Regions from separate parts of the Homo sapiens genome. Here region 1 is linked to region 2. Evidence: promoter capture Hi-C in 16 types of primary human blood cells and fetal thymus (Javierre and others, 2016). All regions are on one chromosome and are shown on one strand. Each heading gives the region's core, a stretch centred on a gene start or on the middle of the fragment in contact. The rest is flanking DNA. Distances are from core to core; before and after follow the strand shown.

Evidence for each region. The method cuts DNA at HindIII sites, captures the fragments that hold promoters and counts their contacts. A CHiCAGO score of 5 or more calls a contact.
Region 1: a contact is called between a fragment that was not itself captured here and the fragment with the promoter of FOSL2 in region 2, in 5 of 17 cell types (endothelial precursors, megakaryocytes, M2 macrophages and 2 more). The highest score is 6.1, in endothelial precursors.

Annotation. Positions count from the first base shown.
Region 1 is chr2:27,869,161-27,876,721 of GRCh38, forward strand. The region is part of intron 1 of RBKS (ribokinase); the gene reads right to left. Among named protein-coding and RNA genes, the nearest start is that of RBKS, 17 kb to the right of the region's middle. The HindIII fragment of the contact is 800 bases long and covers 2,136-2,935 here.
Region 2 is chr2:28,390,236-28,397,773 of GRCh38, forward strand. FOSL2 (FOS like 2, AP-1 transcription factor subunit) reads left to right here and starts at 2,623. Exons shown (of 4, transcript NM_005253.4): 1 at 2,623-3,587. The coding sequence starts at 3,486. FOSL2-AS1 (FOSL2 antisense RNA 1) reads right to left here and starts at 4,437. Exons shown (of 2, transcript NR_103831.1): 1 at 4,313-4,437. RefSeq lists silencers at 223-292, 1,840-2,959, 3,446-3,622 and enhancers at 2,653-3,584, 3,740-4,240, 4,241-4,741. The HindIII fragment of the contact is 9,962 bases long and covers 1,056-7,538 here.

The DNA.
Region 1 (7,561 bases), core at 1,286-3,785, 520 kb before region 2:
TAAAGCTCCTTGGACCTATTTATATTTTAGGATTTTATAATTTATTGTGTAATTTTTATTTAATAGTAATTATACTTCTGAAGAACACTGGTGTTCTTCAAGCTGAACCAAGATGCTGAGACAGCAAGGCCAAATAATGGTGCTCCTTTCCTACTTAATTCAGAAGGCATTAAGTGAATGGACACTATGTTATCAAATTTAACTTTTCTTCTTAAACCCGAGTGCAGTATTCTTTATGTAACCTATAGTCTAGCAGAAGAGAGCATACAATTTCATGGGAAGTATGAATATAGTTAACTTAAGCTTAATGTTCTGTGGTATTCCACAAAAAGTGTGACTTACCTGTGCTCTACAGCAGTGGTCCCCAGCCTTTTTGGCACCAGGGACTGGTTTTGTGGAAGACAATTTTTCCAGGGACCAGGGGGAGGAAATGGTTTTGGGATGATCCAAGCACATTCCATTTATTGTGCACTTTATTTCTATTATTATTACAGTGTAATATATAATGGAATAATTATACAACTCATCATAATGTTGAATCAGTAGGAGCCCTGAGCTTGTTTTCCTGCAACTAGACGGTCCTATCTGGGGGTGACGGGAGACAGTGATACCTGAAGTGTGTTGTTTATGTCCAGTCTACTCCATAATCTCGTTTTGGTTGCTGTTACTGCAGAAAACTCTGCTTCACAAAGATAGGGTGTTGGAAATGGAAGCAAGCTTTTCAGTGCTTTTGGGGCAGTCTCTGGATATTATGCCTTGACTTCAATCCGGACTGTGTGAAGATTTGAAGCTGTTTCAACATACTTTTAAGGCCACCGTCATTTGCGATCTCAAGCAGTTGGTCCTTTTCCAGCACGGACAAAGTCGATTCACCTTGGCTTATCCACAAATGGGTTGCAGATCCATTCCTTCCCAGTCTGGGGGGTCTTTTGTGGTTGGGAAGTAATGCTCAAACTCCTTTAAAAGCTGAGATAGGTGATCATGCACCAGCTGGGGGAAAGAAGGCCCTGGTTCAGTCTCTTTCAAAATATCTGCTAATGTTTGAAACATGTCAGAAATCCCCATGTTCACTTGTCACCCCCATAATTCCAGTTTGGCTTTGAATGCAGCCCCTTTATCTGACAATTTGAACACAGTTGTCATTCTCCCCTGAAGTGACAGATCGAGTTCGTTGAGCAGGTTGAATATGTCACACAAGGAAGCCAGGTTTGCAACCCATTCTGTGTCACTGAAATGTGCTGCCAGTGGTGACTGTTTTTCTAAAAGAAATCTCCGGAGTGGCTCTTGTAACTCAAAAACTCTGATCAGTGATCTACCTTTAGAAAGCCATCTCACTTGTGTGTGTGAGAGAAGACATGTGTGCACTGCACCCACCTCCTCACAGAGCTGTGCGAAGAGACGTGAGTTAAGGGCATGTACTTTAACGTGGTTGATAATTTTAATCACATCCTGCAAAATGCTGTTAAGTTCAGGTGACATTTTTTGGCTAGCCAGCATTTCTCTATGGATGACATGGTGTGTAGACTCACATTCAGAAGCAACCTCTTTGATGTGAGTAGTGAAACCAGAAGCTGTCCAGCCATGGCAGCCACTCTGTCCATGCATATACTCACACAAAATGACCAGTTCAGTTTTCCTGACATGTAATCACGCAAAGACTTGAACAGTTCTGCAGCTGTGGTGTGGGCTGGCAACAAAAGTGCACATAACATATCCTCATGCACATCCTCCTGAAAAATACATTACACAAAACAAGCATTGTTGCCTTGTCAACATCGGTAGACTCATCAACCTGGACTGCGTATCACAGTGACTCATTAATCCACTCTAACAATTGTGCCTCAATGTCCTCTGCTATTTCATCAATTTGTCTAGTTATGGTGCCAGCTGAATGAGGAACTTGTGCCACCTTTTTAACTGCAAGATCTCCTAAAAGTTCAAGACAAATGTCCTTAGCAGCAGGCAGGGTCAACTCTTCACCAACAGTAAAGGACTTCTTAGCTTTAGCAATGCATTTAGCCACTAACAATGATACTCTCAGTACAGACACATTTGATGAAGCTGTGGCCTTCAATGATTGCTTCTGTTCTTCGTGTTCACTAAAACAAACAAACAAACAAACAAAAAAACCCAAAAGCTTGTTTTTTAATGCGAGGTGCTTGGTCTCCATGTAGCAAAGCAGTTTTGAAGGTTTCATGGCTTCGTTGGATAGCTAGTTACCACATATTATACAAAGCAGGTTCAATGCACCCGTAATTTAAATAGGACTCTTGGTATTTTCTTTTAAATGCAGCTTTCATTTTGTTGCCAGTCTTAAAAGTCTTCTGCTGTCTCATCATTGGGTCTTTCCCCCCTTTTCAAAGAAGCTCTCCAGTGACGTTTATTTTTTACTAATTTGGCTAGGATTAGCTCATGGGCTTACCAAAACTGTGACTGAGACAAGTGTGCAGTGTGAGAAAGAGGCATGGTAAATAAAATAATGGGTGGGCCATGTGTGGGCTAAAATAACTGTTGGATTCTGACTTAAGGCCTGCTACCAGATGCAGCTGTACAACTGAAGTACATCAACTCACTTGCCACTATAAAGTTAAGCCTGCCACCAGATACAGCTTAATTGTCATTTGCCACTCACTGATAGGGTTTTGATATAAGTCTGCAAGCAGTTGATTTATGATGGTCTCTGTGCAGTCAAACCTCTCTGCTAATGTTAATCTGTATTTGCAGCTGCTCCTCAATGCTAGCATCAGTGCCTCAGCTCCACCTTAGATCATCAGGCGTTAGATTCTCAAAACCAGTGCACAGCCTAGATCCCTTGCATGTGCAGTTCACGATAGGGTTCACGCTACTATGAGAAACTAATGCTACTGCTGATCTGACAGGAGGTGGAGCTTAGGAGGTAATGTGAGCAATGGGGAGTGGCTGTAAATACAGATGAAGCTTTGCTCACTTGCCTGCCACTCACCTCCTGCTTTGCAGCCTGGTTCTTAACACACCACAGATCAGTACTGGTCTGTGGCCCAGGGGTTGGGGACCCCTGCTCTACAGGCTTAATGAGCTTGAAAAATAGTGTTCTAAAGAGCCGTTTATTGTAACGTAACACATTTAAAATAAATTCAAATAAATCAGAACTCCCAACAAATGTGACTGGATTACATTCTCTAGTAAAAAGAAAAAAGTAGTGCAGTTATAAAAAAAATTAATAAATAAAACAAGCCAACAAAAGACTAAAATTCAGGTATGCGCTGTTTATGAGACACATTGAAGGGTGAAAAGAAAAAAAGACAGGAAAAGATATACAAGGCAAATAGCAACTAAAACAAACCTGGATAGCTTTATCAATATCAGCCAAAAATTAAAAAATAAAAAAGCTTAAGGCAAAGACAGATAAAATATGGTAACTCACTTTAATCAAAAGGTTAAATTCATCAGCACCACAGGAAAGGGAGAAAAAAGGTTAAACTCGGCAGGAAAATGTAATAATTCAAGTCTAAGTATAACCAATAAATTAGCCGTAAAATACATAAAACCAAAAAAATATATAACAACAACAAGAAATTGTCAAATCCACCATCACGGTAGGTGATGTTAATGCAATTCCCTAGGTAAGCAAAACGTCAAGCAGACAGAAAGTCAGCCTAGCTTAATGAATGTATATGAAACACCACAGCTGAACACCCATCAAATAAGAAACATGGCAAGAAGGAAGCAATTTGTGGTGGAAGCAGAAGCTTGAATGGATGCAGAGGGGTAAAGGAGGCCAGTAAAGGCAAAACACTGGCAGGGTTGGGAATGAGCAGGTGCTATACTCGCAGAGAAAGCCTGCAAATGGGGAGAGGAGTGAGGGTATGGAACACACATGAGGAGGGCAGTGGGGCCAGGGTAATGATGGAGCACTGGGGTAAAAATTAAAGAACAATCCATTTCCTAGGAACCTTCCCTGGTTCCTGCTCTTCCTGAGACCTGGCTGTTAAGCTAATTCTGGGTCACCTTGCAAACAAGTATCCATTCTTGAAGTAACTGAAATGATCCTCTGCTCATTACAACCCAAATAACTAACCAGTTAAATAATGCAGTTTCCTTGTTGCAGCTGTCAATAGGGTTAAAGTTCTGCTGGAATCGGGGTCCCCACACAGACATTCTACACAGCTGCTATTCTTGGGCAACTGTGGCATGCAAGCATTCCCTCCTTCCCTCCACAAATGTTCACTGAGTAACTACTTTGAGCAAGGTACTGTGATAATTTCAAATGGCTTAAAAGAAACATTTTAGATAATACTCTATTTTCTTTATGGTCTTGACAGAATACCAAAGAACTGCTTATGATTTTCATTGAGACAGCCTGAAGGACTTTAAAATTGAGTTTCTAAAAGACTTTTGGCAGAGTATTTGGTTGAAAATTTAGGTAACTAAAAATGTAGGTTTGTATTTCTCACTTCAAAATGAAGACCTCTAACTCAGAAAAAACCAATATTGTTGCTATAACAGTGTATGAATTGTAATTTTTTAAACTGGTGGTAAAAATCCAGATGTAAAATATAATTTTTAAAGGGTACTTAAAAAACTGTTGCACAAATTATTTTCTGCAATGATACAGAAGAATTGCATTTGAACGTATTTTTGACCATGAGAGACAAGCCAGTACCTAATATGTGATGTATCTGGGAAACAAACAAAAAAAAAACAAAACACCCTGAAACAAAAAACCCCAAACCCAAAGCAAAAACAAAACTCTCAGCTTTTATTTAGAAAACACATCAACCATATACAAACAGAGATAATTTATAGCAGCCTTCTGTATGTATACAAGAAACACTCCAAGTCAAACTAGTGATATAAAAATCATAAAGAAGGTAAGGCAAGGCAGATAGAAATATTTTAAATGCTCATATGAAGAATTTAAGGCCTCAAACGTGTCTTCAATCAGTTGTCATAAGAGGAACCTTCTACAATTCAAAGAAAACTTGTCCTTGAAGATCATATGACAAAAAAGTTGTTCATCACTGTGTAGAAAGTACTAAAAAGTGATTAAAATTGTATTCAATGAAGAAAATCTTGATTTAGTATGATAACTATGGAAGAAATTGGAATAATCTCAGATCCTTTTTATGATACTCAGTCCATTCTCCGCATATATTTGTTACAATTACTACATTCCAGACTCTGTGTGAAGTTCTGGAGATATTCAGACCCTGTCCTCACTTAGCTTACAGCTTAGTTTTAACATTGTACAATCACTGTCAGAATGGAGGAAGGTGCAGCCACTCAACTAGGAGGCAACTGTCCTGGGCGGAACTCACATCATTCAAGAACTGATATCACTGGACAGCATCATGTGACACAACACGTCGTCAAGAGTGAAGACTCTGTATTACCACAGCAGAGAGACTGGATAACCAGGTATGATGCCACTTATACGCTGATGTGTTTATCTGTGCCAATCATGACTCCCCTTGATCAGGAATAACTCCAACCCCTTTCTCTTAAAGGTTAATTTCTCCAAATTGCTACAGTATTTTGTCACATTCACTCTACTTCATAGTTCCTGCTTTTATCAGTAAGTCACTTTTTGTCTACCCCTGTGGAACATTAAAATTTATGGGGAGTTTAAAAAACAAAAATTGATGCCTGGATTCCCTCCCTGGAGAGGCTGGTTTAACTGACTCTAAAGGGCAACCAGGGTTGAGAATCTCTCTCATCCATATTTCCACAATATTTTATGCTAGCCAGAGTCTTAAAATTCTCCTTTCACTCTTATACTATTAGCTTCTTTGCTGCAGAACTCTTAACCAGCATCTTTACATTTTCTTTTCTTTGAACTGTCTTGTTTAAAATCTTAAGGAGTGTCCAACAGAAAAATGGACAAAGGACCCATGGCTGGCAACTCACAAAAGAAACACAAATAACTAACAAACATCTGGAAAACATTCAACATCTCCTCTTGTAATCAAACATGAAAACATTTAACATCTCTCAACTAGTAATGTGTTCGTTAAAAATCCAGGAAATAGGCCTTTTTCATACACTGTGAGTAGGAGTGTATTTCAGAAGAACTTTTATGAAGGCAAATAGGCAATATATTTCAAAAGTTTAAAAAATGTTATTTCCAGCCAGGTATGGTGTCTCACGTCTGTAATCACTGCACTTTGGGAGGCCAAGGTGGGCAGATAGCTTTAGGTTAGGAGTTCGAGAGCAGCCTGGGCAACATGGCGAGACCTTGTCTCAACCAAAAATAAAATATAAAAATTAGTTGGGCATGGTGGTATGCACCTGTAGTCCCAGCTACTCAGAAGGCTGAGGTGGGAGGATTGATTGAGCCTGGAAGGTCAAGGCTGCAGTGAGCTGCGATCGCAACACTGCATTCCGGCCTGGGTGACAGAACTAGACCTTGACTCAAAATAAAACAAAACAAAAACAAGAATGTTATTTCCTTTGGCCTAGAAATTCCAGCTCTAGGAATTTACCTAAGGAAACAGACATGAGTCCAAAAGATAAGTGTTCAAAGAAGTTCATCATAGCAAACAGAACCAACTTAAAAGTATTTATTTAGGGCACTGAATCAACAAATTTTTGTATCTCTACGTAACAGAGTATTAAATGGCCACAAAAATGCTGGGGCTGAGATTGAGGGTGGCAGAGAAGGTATGAGGTTTACTGAGCTCCTTGCCTGTACAGACACATTTTTCCTCTTGCACAAACGTATACTTAGACATGACAGATATACATACATATGGGGATGCAAAATTGCATAAGAGGACATAAAAGAGGGATTACAAATGGGAGACGAAACAAAAAAAATAGGCTAAACTGAAATAAGAAAAGGAGGCTTGGTGAGTAAGATGCAGAATAGGGACTTTACAAAGAAGATGCAAGAAACTAAAAGGAAAAGCAGTGTTGCTGTTATGGAAAACAATATGGTGGGTCCTCAAAAAAATTAAACATAGAATTACCATATGATCCAGCAATCCCACTTTTGGGTATATACTCAAAAGAACTGAAAACAGGGGCTCAAACAGGTATTTGTATTCCCATGTTAATAGCAGCATTGTTCACAATACCCAAAGGTAGAAGCAACCCAAATGTCCACTGATAGATGAATAAACAAAATGTGTAATGTACATAAATGGAGTATTTTTCAGCCTTAAAAGGAAGAAAATTCTGAAACATGCTACAACATGGATAAACTTTGAAAATATTATGCTAAGTGAAGTAAGCCAGTTACAAAGACTCCACCTATATGAGATACTTTGACTCCAATTATACATATGGTAGACTGTTCCACAGGTTACAGAGGCTCTGTGCATTTTTTCTTTATGCTTAAATTTAGATAATCTCTATTACTATGTCTTCAAGTTCACTTACCCTTTCTTGAGGACGTTATGCTAAGTGAAATAAGTAAGTCACATAACGGCAAACACTGCATAATTCCACTTATATAATGTACCTAAAGTAGTCAAATTCATAGGGATAGAAAGTAGAATAGTAGTTGCCAGGGGCTGAGGGGAGGAGGGGATAGGGAGTTATTGTTTAATAAGAACATCATTTCCATTTAGGAAGATGAAAA
Region 2 (7,538 bases), core at 1,373-3,872:
AGCACGAGTTCTGGAGTAGGAGAGGGCCGGGATCAAAGCGCTCTGAGGCAGGCCAGGGCGCACCAAAGGGAGGCTAGTGAATTGCATCAGCACAGATTCCGTGATGCTCTGCAGACGTCTCCAGGCTGCTGGGCTTTACGGGAACCCACAAGAAAGGAAAGGACCGGGGAGCTGGCAGGGCGAGGGCGGGCGAGGGCGCGAGGGTGCGCTCGCCCGCGCGCTCCCGGCGGCGCCTGGCCGGGGCTGGGCGCGCCCGGGACTGCGGAGGCCGCGGAGGAAGCTCCCGCTCCCCTTCCCCCGCCTCTTTCCCCCCGCGTTACTGGAAGGACTGTGTGGGAGAGACCCAGAAGCACCCGGATTTTCGACCGCCAGGTGGGGGAGGGCGGGGCAGCCTCTACTGCTCAAAGGAAAACCAAAAGTGCGTCTGTTCGCGCCGCTCCGACACGCGGTTGCTACTGGGAGGGCTCAGGCAGGGCGCTTTGGCCGCGCCTCCCTTTGCAGCCCCCAAGACTTGGCTAGGGCGGCCTGAGGCCCGCGTGGCGCGGGGAGGGGCTGAGAACCGAGTGGGAAAATGTCACGATTTCTTCTGTGCCCCTCCCGTCCCTACCCCCACCCCCAGTTTTCTGAGTTTTGCTGCTGCCGCTGGGGAAGGACTGATTCGTTTTGCGTCAAAGGACTGCATTTACTCAGTCCTGCTGGGAGAGGCGCGTAAACACCCAGGCAAGCCAGGACGCAGGGATGGGGAGGGGGAAGAAAAAAGCAAAGCACCCACGGCCGGCGCGCGCGTCCGCCTGCCCCACACCCCTCTCCTGGGCCTGCGGAGTTGGGGACTCTGTCCAGCGGGCAGCAGCGGAGGTGCGAGGAGTCTGGCTGGCCTCGCCTCGTCGCGCACGCGCGCGCGTCCTTGGGGATAGCGTTCAGGACAGAATGTGTTTTATAGCTGTAAACAATGACCCCGAGTATTGTTTGGGATTACCGTATCTTGGGGCCCTTGGGGCGGCCAGATGCCGCCAGCCGTCCCGGAAATGCCAGCGCTTTATATAGAGCCCCAGGAAAGCTTCGCGTTCCCGGCTCTATTTTTCTCTGCTACCAACACCCCCACTTTGCAGATAAGGAAACTGAGGACAGAAGTTGTGTGACGGTGCACAGCGAGTTGTCAGCAATGGACTCTCAACACCTCTTAACATTGGGTCCTCATAAGGACCCTGTGGGGTACAGATGGCTGGCGCTACTTAAGAATTGGGTAAACTGAGGCTAACACAGACCCTGGACCAAAACCTAAGTTCCCTGACTTCCGCTACAGTACTTCTCCATTCACACACACCATCATCTCAGCGGAAGGATTGGAGCTCCAGAGCAGAGAAGGGCCTAAGGTCATGTCTCCAAACTCCTTCACTTTATAGGAGGAAACTGAGGCCCAGAGAGGTTAAGGAATTCGTCCAAGATCTCACAGCTCGTAAATAGCGTAGCCGGGCGTTCCTGCTCTAAGGTCTGTGCTCTGTACCCTGCGCCGCGCCCCTCCCAGCCCCGCCCAGCGAGGGAGGAGGACCCAAATGTCCGGCAACCCGCGCCCTGAACTTCGCTCCAAAACAGCTGAAGACGACAACGTTGGGGCACACCCTCTCGCTGGCTTTTTTTTTTTTTTTTTAATTCGTAACAGTCTGGAGTTTGCTTATAAACGCCCGATTACTCTTATTAGATGCGTCCTAATTGCCCGGCGTATAGGGCGGCCGGAATGTCTTGACTGGTTAATTTCATCTTCAAGGCTACTCCTAACGAATTAACTGTAGGACCGAAAACATGAAAAACAAAAAACAAAAAGGGAACCGGTAGGCAGACCGCCACGGAGGGAAAAATAGGCAGGCCAGCCCCGCCCGGCGCCGTGCCCCGCCAACACCCGGCCGCAGGGCGGCGCGGGCACCCTGCGCGCCCGGGGCGCCCGCTGCACTCGGCGGCGCCGCGGAGGGCGCCTACGACCGCGCGCAGCCGCGCCCTCCCTGCGAGCGGCTCTGCGCGCCCGGCTCCCGGCCTCCCGGTGGCGCCGCACCGAACCGCCCGTCTCGCCGTCAGGGCTGTGATTATTTTCTAAAATCCGGAGGCGAGACCCGCGCGGCCGCTCTCGGGGCCCCGCCCCGAGCCCCTTCCCAGGGCGGGGGAGAGGCCGCAGCGCACTCGGGAGCGGGCGAGGGAATCCCTCTCCCTCCACGTCACCCGAAAGCGAGGAAACCCGCACTCGCGTCCTCTAACGCAAATGACCATCTTTGGCAACGTGCGCCAATGGAACAGACCAAGGGCGCTGGGCCCGGGGGGTGAGCGGGGGACTGGGGAGGGCCGGGGCTGCCTCGGCGCCTCCGAACCGTGCGTGGCGCCCGCTCCCGCCCGTGCCACCGCCTGGCTTCCTCGCGCGGGGTGCGCGGTTGGCGTCAGCGCGGCCGGGAGCCGGGGCTGGGAGGGGAGAGCTGCGCCCGCCTCCTCCCCTCCCGCGCCTCTTCCTCCTCCGCGGCCTCCTCCCCCCGCCTCCTCGTGCGCTCCTCCCTGCAAGGTGGAGTCTGGGGTTGACGTGAGTGAATCCACATGGTACAGGGCTGGAGAATAAAGAGTGTGAGTTGAACTCGTGCCATTGTAGTGACTCATCTCGGGCAGAGCGCTAGGGCTCCGAGCGAACCAGCGAGCGAGCGAACGAGCGGCGCTCGGCGGGGACAGAAAGAGGGAGAGAGAGAGAGAGAGAGAGGGAGAGGCGCGGCCGGGCGAGGCGGGCCCGTCCGGGAGCGGGCTCCGGGGAAGGGGTGCGGGTCTGGGCGCCGGAGCGGGGAGCGGGGCCGCGTCCCTCTCAGCGCCAGCTCTACTTGAGCCCCACGAGCCGCTGTCCCCCTGGCGCGCTCGGGGCCGCGGGACGGGCGCACGCCGCCTTCTCCTAGTCAAGTATCCGAGCCGCCCCGAAACTCGGGCGGCGAGTCGGCCACGGGAAGTTTATTCTCCGGCTCCTTTTCTAAAAGGAAGAAACAGAAGTTTCTCCCAGCGGACAGCTTTTCTTTCCGCCTTTTTGGCCCTGTCTGAAATCGGGGGTCCCCAGGGCTGGCAGGCCAGGCTCGCTGGGCTCCTAATCTTTTTTTTAATTTCCAATTTTTGATTGGGCCGTGGGTCCCCGCTGAGCTCCGGCTGCGCGCGGGGGCGGGAGGGCGCGCGCAGGGGAGGGACCGAGAGACGCGCCGACTTTTTAGAGGGAGGGATCGGGTGGACAACTGGTCCCGCGGCGCTCGCAGAGCCGGAAAGAAGTGCTGTAAGGGACGCTCGGGGGACGCTGTTCCTGAGGTGTCGCCGCCTCCCTGTCCTCGCCCTCCGCGGTGGGGGAGAAACCCAGGAGCGAAGCCCAGAGCCCGCGGCGCGGCCGGCGGACGAACGAGCGCGCAGCAGCCGGTGCGCGGCCGCGGCGAGGGCGGGGGAAGAAAAACACCCTGTTTCCTCTCCGGCCCCCACCGCGGATCATGTACCAGGATTATCCCGGGAACTTTGACACCTCGTCCCGGGGCAGCAGCGGCTCTCCTGCGCACGCCGAGTCCTACTCCAGCGGCGGCGGCGGCCAGCAGGTAGGTGCGGGCCCCGGTGCACCTGGCGGCGCGGGCGGACCCCTGCCCTCTTCTCGCCGCCACTGCCTCTTTTGCTTTCTTTTCTTTTTCTTGGCGAGAAAATACCTACGGGCCACCGTTGTAAGTTCTGGATTTTCGTCCTCCCCTTCCCCCCCACCCCCTTTTAAACTAGGGGATTGGAGAGTGGGCTTGAAGAGACAACATGCCCTTTTCCTCTCACGTTATATTTTACCCAGATAGACTCCTGGAATTGTAGGCCCCCTACCAGGAGCCTGTTACCTCCTTCCAAGAACTACTCCCCCTCCCCAGTGTCTGCCCCCCCCCCCCCACCCCTGCCCCGCGTCTTCTCTCTGGGTGGTGGACAGACAAGAAAATCTTTGCACCCACTGGCACCTCTCGACATCCTGGGACCCTATTCCTTCAGGAAAGCCCTCTCTCTCTCCTCCCCGTTCTCCATCAGTCATAACTCCTTTCTGAAAGGGGTTGGGGACCCAGAAACATGGTTGGACTCCTTCAAGTAATCTGGAGCGAGGGCGAGGGCTGCCGCTCTGGGAATCAGGTGCGAAGGTCAGGAAGGAAGAAGCCAGCCTTGGTTGGCTCATGCCGCCTGTGTGCCCCCTGCCTGCCTGCCTGCCCCCCCGCCGACCCGTCTTCTGTAAGGATCACGGACAGGAGGCTGCACTGCCCCCCAGGAACGAAGGAGCACCTTGAGGGTCTGGGGGTACCTGGAGCAAGGAGACCGGCAGAGGGAAGAGGGGGTCGGGTGGGGGAAGAGACATCACGCAGGCTCCTGGGTGGTTCTGGAAGCAGAAAACAACTTGTTTCTAAAGCAGCCGGACTGGTTTGCACTGGAGGGATTGTGCGTGTGATCTCTGTGTTTATAAATACCAGGAAGGTGCTGTTGGCGGGGGGGTGCTGATGGCGTGTCTGCCCTCTGCTGCAGCTCCCCCACCCGCTCTGTCTCGAGAGAGAGCTGGGTTAACGCAGGCCCAATACAACATGAAGCCCACCGTGGTCAGCATCTGTGGAGTCTAGCATAGTTGGCTGCAGCAAGGGATGCTCATGCTCCATAAGGCGGTGGCCTTGGCCTCTAGAAGGGGCTAGGGTGGGCTTCCAGGGAGGGGTGGACTCAGCTGGAAAGAATTTTGGAACGTGGCTCTCTTTTGGATCTGATGGGGGGGTCCCTTGTTCCAAAGTGATTCCCTATACCTGGTGAGTCCCCAAAATGGCTTTTCTGTCTTCCCTCTGCCTCCCATGGTGCTCCTATAAGCACCCACAGTAGAGACAGCCTAGTCTGTTCATTGAGGGTGCAGTCAATGCACCCTTCGTAATGAGCACCAAGGTGATGAGTTTAAAATCCGAAAAGTTGTTGATTATGTTTGCTTCCCAGCCCCGCTAGTGGTTTGTGTTGAATGTAAACATAATGAGGGAATAGGTTGAAGTCTGTACCCACTCCCTCCGTCTCCCGTTCGACAAACCCCAAACGCCTGTCTGTCTCCTCCTCCCTGAAATCAGGAAGGGATCTTTTGATTTCTTCTCTGTTCTTTTCCCTAATGTGTCTTTAGCAGTGATCATTGGAGTATTACAATCTCACTGCCTGGTTTAGCATAGACCCTGGGGCCTGGAGGGAAGTCAGACCGGACATCAGTGCCCCAACTGAATAATCTGTGTCACTAGGGCTTTGAGCCCAGGATGTGAGCGGAGGCAATTCCCGGTTTTGGAAGAAAATCAGACAGGAAACCAGTGCTAGGAAGAAGGAAGAGAACTCAGTCCAGCAGAGTGTAATAGGGCCTCATTACCGAAGCAAAAAGCAGCTGTTGGCTAATTCCTAGCATGCTGTAACACATGAGTATTTTGCAATTAGCAATAACCAGTGCACGGGGTTTCGCATAGACGCCTGCCCATTCGGCCCGGCAGTGTGTGAGGCGCCTTTCAAACCGGAGGGATTGGCAAGGTAATGCCACTTGAGACAAGTTTCTTGGCCTGTCCGCTCCTTGGTGTGGTGGTGGTTGGGTGGGGGACGAGGAGGAACTGGTGGATTTTTCTGTCATTGCTCCAAGTGTGAACAAAATTGTTCTGTGGTCCTAAGGACTGACCTCAGAGGCTTTTGTTCCTTCACAAGTCTATGCTATGACCTTGCCCGATCTTGGGCTCAAGGTAACTTTACTACATACCAGATAAAACCTGTAATCACTTTATTTCTCTCCGCTTCCTGTACTGGAAGACTTTCCTGGCAATTAGTGGATGGGCCTTTCTCTTTTATGGCATCTCAGTGGACCGATCCATATGAGACAGTTCTCTGGTTTTTCTCTGGGGAAGTGAATTTTATTTTTTTCAGCTCTCTCTTTTGGGGGTCCAATATTCCTGATTAGTTTGTTGCCAGTTCTTCAACCCAGAGCTTTCCCGTCCTCTCTAGCTTCATGAAGCTGGATCTTAATACATGGCCATGAGCTCCAGTGACTTTGGGGGTGGGGGGAGCAGACTAGTCTTTGTTACAGCCTCTGTTCTTATATATGGCAGGAACTTGAGGCATGAAAAATATTTCCTGTTCCAGTTATAGTTTTAATCTCAAAGGTTGGTCATTGGTGATTTTGTTTTGTCAGTAACCGTTGCACACACCTCCCCTTCTTGGATTTTTCTTTTTGCTGTTGTTTTTTCTCTCCTAACTTTCCTAGGAAAACATCTCCCAGATATATGCCCTGCCTGGCTGCTTGACTATTACGGTTTCAGGGCCTGAGCATTACGCAATCCAGCCAGTTACACAAACATAGGTCATTTCATAACTTGTTTTCATCAGCTGGGCCCCCTTTTAATGAAAAAACAAAACAAAAACAAGACCTAGAACTTTTCCAAGGCTGCTATTTGTTTCTCAGATAACTTGTGAAAATAAATCAAGGGCAGTATTTCCTTTTTGGAGTTAAGGAATACCAGACTAGCACTCTTCTTCCTCAACCACCCCTTCCCAAGACACACACACACACACACACACACACACACACACACACACACACACACAAAATTCCCCAGAGTGAACTTTTGCCAACTGTACCAGACTGGGACATTCCTCACATCAAAGAACTTTTACCAGAAATGACTGTGATTCCCAAGCTAGCCTCAATCATACCTCTCTAGTGCCCTCTACGGGAAATTTTTAGGAAAACTATCTTGGGAATGTATTTTTCCAGTCCCAGAGAGTGTTAAATTGGTGAGTTTGGAATTCTTAGGATGCTTTTTCTTTTTAATGAGGGACAAATAAATGCCACATATTTAACCGTGGTTAACTAGGAACTGCTTGACTTTGAGTTTCTTTTTTGTTTTCTTCTAAATAAAACCTGGTTAAAAAAGGAGTGCTTTTTCGTTGTGCACAAGTACCCTAGAACTTAAAGTATAATAAAAAATAAAAATAAAAAAAGGAGTGCTTTTTTCTTTTCCTATTTTGATGTCTGTCTATTCATTAGGTTGCCTTCACAGTTTGTTCAAATTCCCAAGGCATGTTTTCCTATGTGCTTATATTAGGAGGGGGCTTGTTCAGTTGGTGGGAATGTGGGAGGCATAGATTAAGGGTCTGGGTGCTTTTTTTTTTCCCCTTGATGTTACAGATGTTGTAGATTAGGATCAAACAAAATGTTATCCCAAGAATTTGTCTGTTCCGCTGATTCTTGATGGTGGAAGTCAGCTTCACTTTTTCATCAAAGGGAATGGGGTGAAATAGCAGTCATGTATTGTCTGAAAGGCATTTGAATTTTCCTATCCAAAACGCTGAGTGCATTTCCACTACCCATTTCTGCTTCTGCCTGTCTTATTATTCAAGGTGAGGGTAAAATTGGGAGACTTGTTTTTTCTTCTCTATCTTAATACAAACACAGCAGAACTTATTCATCCTTGTCACTGTCATCCCCTTCCTTGTTTTTTCCTTGGGGAGACTAAATGCTTATCTGAATGCTGCGGCTA